2 separate regions of the Homo sapiens genome follow, and region 1 is linked to region 2. Evidence: promoter capture Hi-C in 16 types of primary human blood cells and fetal thymus (Javierre and others, 2016). All regions are on one chromosome and are shown on one strand. The core of a region is centred on a gene start or on the middle of the fragment in contact, and the rest is flanking DNA. Distances in the headings are between cores, read along the strand shown.

What was found. Contacts are between HindIII fragments. The CHiCAGO score rates a contact against its expected background, and 5 or more counts as called.
Region 1: a fragment that was not itself captured here is called in contact with the fragment with the promoter of NCOA3 in region 2 in 1 of 17 cell types (activated CD4 T cells); the score reaches 6.0 in activated CD4 T cells.

The regions. Positions count from the first base shown.
Region 1 is chr20:47,239,666-47,242,365 of GRCh38, forward strand. The region is part of intron 14 of ZMYND8 (zinc finger MYND-type containing 8); the gene reads right to left. Among named protein-coding and RNA genes, the nearest start is that of MIR3616, 74 kb to the left of the region's middle. The HindIII fragment of the contact is 5,013 bases long and covers 1-2,700 here.
Region 2 is chr20:47,500,451-47,503,150 of GRCh38, forward strand. It overlaps NCOA3 (nuclear receptor coactivator 3), which reads left to right and starts at 1,437. Exons shown (of 23, transcript NM_181659.3): 1 at 1,437-1,569. RefSeq lists a cis regulatory region at 353-425 and a silencer at 1,677-1,796. The HindIII fragment of the contact is 2,001 bases long and covers 768-2,700 here.

The sequences.
Region 1 (2,700 bases), core at 4-2,503, 260 kb before region 2:
ATTCTTTTCATCTCTTCTGATTCCCTCCAGGACAAAGTTTGAAGGCGGTACTGATAGCCAGGACAATACCAGGAAAACAAATTCTGCCCCAAGGCCAGAACCTTCCCCCAACGCAATGGTACTGATCTAGGATTGAGTAGCATTGCTTTGGTTTTGATTGGATTTATTCCTATCACCAGCTTTTATGTATACTGTGTGCTACTGTTCTTATTGGGTGGTGTTCAAGTCTAAAATGAGTTTATACTTGCAGATGCTTTTTTCAGGGGAAATTTTTTTACTAAAAAAATGAGGCCAAGCACGGTGGCTCACGCCTGTAATCCCAGCACTTCGGGAGGCTGAGGCAGGCGGATCACTTGAGGTCAGGATTTTGAGACCAGCCTGACCAACATGGGGAAACCCCGTCTCTATTAAAAATACAAAAAAATTAGCCAGACGTGGTGGGAAACTGAGGCAGGAGAATTCCTTGAACCCAGGAGGCGGAAGTTGCAGTGAGCCGAGATCGCGCCACTGCACTCCGGTCTGTGAGAAAGAGTGAGTGAGACTCCGTCTCAAAAAATATTACTAATAGGCCGGGCGCAGTGGCTCACGCCTGTAATCCCAACACTTTAGGAGGCTGAGGTGGGCGGATCACTTGTGGTCAGGAGTTCAAGAGCAGCCTGGCCAACATAGTGAAACCCCGTCTCTACCGAAAATACAAAAATAGCCGGGTGCGGTGGCAGGCGCCTGTAGTCCCAGCTACTCAAGAGGCTGAGGCAGAAGAATCGCTTGAACCCGGGACGTGGAGGTTGCAGGGAGCCGAGACCATGCCATTGCACTCCAGCCTGGGTGACAGGGTGAGACTCCGTCTCAAAATAATAATAATAATAAATGAAAAGTAAATAAAATGAGTTTATTTTATTTATTTATTGAGATGGATTCTCACTCTGTCACCCAGGGTGGAGTGCAGTGGCACAAACTTGGCTCACTGCAACCTCCGCCCTCTGAGTTCAAGCGATTCTCCTGCCTCAGCCTCCCGACTACGTGGGATTACAGGCGCCTGCCACCGCACCCAGCTAATTTTTTTTATTTTCAGCAGAGACGGGGTTTCGCCATCTTGCCCAGGCTGGTCTTGAACTCCTGACCTCATGATCCATCCGCCTTGGCCTCCTAAAGTGCTGGAATTACAGGCGTGAGCCAACGTGCCCGGCCTATTTTATTTTATGTTTTAAAGAGATAGAGTTTTGCTATATCACCCCGGCTGGGCTCAAGCAAGCCACTTCAGCCTCCCGAATAGCTGGGACTACACGGGACGTGCTACTGTGTCCCGCTTTAAATGAGCTTAATTTTATTTTTAAAGAATGAGATTCTTGGCCGGGTGCAGTGGCTCACGCCTGTAATCCCAGCACTTTGGGAGGCCGAGGCGGGCAGATCACGAAGTCAGGAGTTCGAAACCAGTCTGGCCAACATGGTGAAACCCCATCTCTACTAAAGATACAAAAAATTAGCCGGGCATGGTGGTGTGTGCCTATAATCCCAGCTACTTGGGAGGCTGAGGCAGGAGAATCGCTTGAACCCATGAGGCAGAGGTTGCAGTGAGCCGAAATCGCCCCATTGCACTCCAGCCTGGGTGACAGGGCGAGACTCCGTCTCAAAAAAAAAAAAAAAAAAAAGATTCTTTAAATAAAAAAAGTCAAAAATTATACAAGCAGGACTTGAGAACGGGAAAGACAATGAATGTGAATGACTCAAGTTTGAAAAACGCTGCCATATGGAGTATGTCATCTTGGAGGAGCTGGGCTGGTGGGGAATAAAGGGTAGGATTTCAACAGGCGGAAAGTGAGAATCTGGAGGGAACAGCATCAGCCAAGATATGTCTAGGAATACAGAGCATTTGAGTAAGTGAGGGCAGGCAGGGAGGAGGGGCTGGAAGGGAGGTTAGAGCCAGAAGCACTGAGCAGCACGTAGAGGCGATGACCACACGGGAGCTCATTTGTAAAGGTGGCTCAGTTATGGATGCACAGGCCTCAGCCCCCGGTAAGGTGAGCCTATGCCCCAGAGAGGATATCTGGGGAACACACACCACACCCAGGTACAAGCCAGCACCCCGATCTTGGACTATGCTCCCTGACATCAAACTCCTTTAAATAAGGATTATGTCTGCCTCTTTTTCTTTTCTTTTTTTTTTTTTTTTGAGATGGAGTCTTGCTCTGTCACCCAGGCTGGAGTGCAGTGGCGCGATCTCGGCTCACTGCAAGCTCCGCCTCCTGGGTTCACACCATTCTCCTGCCTTAGCCTCCCGAGTAGCTGGGACTACAGGTGCCCGCCACCATGCCCAGCTCATTTTTTGTATTCTCAGTAGAGGCGGGGTTTCACTGTGTTAGCCAGGATGGTCTCAATCTCCTGACCTTGTGATCCACCCGCCTCGGCCTCCCAAAGTGCTGGGATTACAGGCGTGAGCCGCTGCGCCCGGCCTATGTCTGTCTTTTTAAGATCAGTATTACCCAGAAAAAGACATGAGCCTGATTACTCCAGCAAGGATTTTCATTCAGTAAGCTGTGGGTTTTAAGAAGCCAAGGAGGGAAAGAGACAAGCTGACTATCCCGACTTCAGAGGGCGTTCTCGATGGTTATCGAGATGTTGCTGGCCCTTGTACTTCCCCAGAGAGGAGAATCCAGCCAAGCTGGTCAGCAAGAGCCTGGGGTGGGTCTGGAAGGAGAGCTT
Region 2 (2,700 bases), core at 187-2,686:
CATGCTCTGAAAATAAATGAAGAAAGGAATAGGAGTAGGGAAAGCTGGGATCAGAGTGGGCAGGAAGTTAAAATAGAGCAGTTAGGGAAAGCCTCACTGAATAAGTGACATTTGGACAATGACCATGGGGAGATTAGGGAATGGGTTATTTGAATTTTCTGGGAAAATACTGTTCTAGGCAGAGGAAATAGCAAGTGCACGATCTTTAAGGCCAGAGTGTGCTAAGCACGTTGGAGAGGCCGAGTCCATTGTAGCTGAGTTACAGAAGTGAGTGGAAGAGAAGAAGGTGATGAGTTTAGAGAGGGAAGGGCAGGGCAAGAGACGGGCTGTATGGGGCTTTGCAGGTTACTGCAAGAATTTTGCAGGAGGGACAGAGACTGACTTGGTTCTTACCAGGATTCCTCTGGCTGCTGTGTTGAGTATAGACTCTAAGAGGAAAGAGTGGAAGCAGGCAGAACACTGAGGAGGCTGTTGCAGTGGTCCAGGTGGGAAATGATGGTGCTGACCGTGGAGGTGGTAAGTGGTCAGATTATTCTATTTTATTTACACTCAACACATCTAATACTGACTCAATATTATCTAACATACAGTCCACATTGAAATTGCCCCCCAAATTCTTTTTACATAAAAAAATCATCCTGAATCCAATCAAGTCTCACCTATTGCTTTTGGTTTTCACCTCTTTCATGCTGTCATATTTTAAAAGACTCCAGGCTAGATGTTGTGTAGAATGTCCCACATTCTGAATTCGTTTATTTTTTCAAGTAAGCTTTTTGTGTGTATGTGGCAAGAATACGACAGAGGTAGCAATATGCTTTCCCCACTGCATCATATTAGGAGACACATAACAACAGTCCTGACCCATTATTGGTGGTGCTAAGTTCGATCACTTGGTAAGGGGGTGCCTGCCAGATCTTTCCATTGTAAAGCAAGCTGTTCTTTATTGTAAGTCATAAATACGCTGTGGGATGATACTTCGGGACTAAATATACCCTGAATATACTGCTGCCCAACAACATTTCACCCAGTGACTTTAGCAGCTAAGGAACAGCCTCGTGGCTTCCGACCTTGTGCCTCAGTTCGCTCATCTGAAAAATGAGGATGATCATGGTCCCTACCGGATGCTTGTTTTGAGGATCCGTGCTTGGCATACCAGAAACGCTCCACAAATGTTAGGTATTACTGGACGAAGGCAAATATGAAAAAAATTAAGGGCAGGGCTAGGACTGCATTCCGGTTCTCCGGATCCCGAGGGAGCTCCCAGTCGATGCTGGGCGAAAGCGGCCGCACGAGCCCACGTCGCCACGCCCTCCGCCGCGGAAGCCAGGGTGGGGGTCGCTGGAACCCTAGGCCGGCCGCGCAAGGCCCCCTGGGACCGGTAGTGCTGGGCGTGGCCTCGGGACTACATATCCCAGTGGCCCCCGTGCGGCGACTTTAGCTGCTGCTGTCTCAGCCGCTCCACAGCGACGGCAGCGGCTGCGGCTTAGTCGGTGGCGGCCGGCGGCGGCTGCGGGCTGAGCGGCGAGTTTCCGATTTAAAGCTGAGCTGCGAGGAAAATGGCGGCGGGAGGTGAGTGGAGATAAAGGAGGAGGCGGTGGCGGGCGAGGGGGTGGAGTGCGAGGCGGAGGGAAGAGGGGCGAGTTCCCCAGGCTGCGAGAGCCAGCGGCTTCAGATCTGCCAAGGCACTGAGGGGCGCGCCGGCCGGGGGACGCGCTGAGGTAGTTTCGGGGTGTCGGGGCCGCGCCGCTTCCCCTCAGCCCGGGGGGCGGCCCGCGGCGGTAGGAGCTGAGACGAAGCTGGGTGGCAGTCCGCTTGGGGATCCGAGGGGGTCCCCGCGCGGAGGGGTCACCCGAGGAGTTTGCGGGGGGACTGCAGGGGCCCACTTTCCCCTTCTGTCCCTAAAGTTTTTTCTTCCTCTTGCCTCCCCCAGCCCTTTTGAAAGCTCCCCGCGTCGTCCTCCTGCTGCCCCGGCTCCTTAGCAGCTTCTGGGACGCACGGGAGGGAAAAGCCGCGGGGACCCCCCCCACCCCAGCCTCCCAGCCGGGTGAGATTTGGTTGCTGTGTTTCCTCCTCACTTGGGCATTTAAAAAATATTTTAACACGAATTGTCCGCGGAATTTTCATGTTGGGCTCGGGTAGCTTCTTAGTTTTCTCGGTAAAAAGGCGTTTTACTACCTCTGGTGTGAAGGCTGGGAAATGGCAAGTGGGAAGTTGGTTGATAAAATTAGGAGTTTGGCTGTCTTTATTACTACTTTTTTTTTTTTTTTGCTCTCCCCATCTCTCATTTTATGAACATCGACCCAGTTCGTCATGGTTTAAATAAACTGCTTGTCTTGTACCTGCCTTAACAAAACTAGCCATGGGTCGTTGGGAGACTTAGTTGCTTCCTAGGCAGTTTGAGGGCATCTAGGGTGGAAAAGTTAACCGAGAGAGCGAGCATCTACCTCACTGGCAGGATCTGGGATTCCCAAATGGAATGACACGGAAGCTATGAGATTCTCTCGAAGTCGAAACTTTTTTCCCCCTCCCGAATGCGAAGACTTCCTTTTTGCAATATTTGAGCAGGGCTTCAAAACCAACCTGTTTTTGTTATTAAGCCTGTACGGTAAAGAAACAGGAAGGAGAGTACCAGCTGTCTTGCTGCAGTGGTTTTAAATGGAGTTGAATGAGATGCGTGAGAGTGGTAGTAGTATTGAGTAA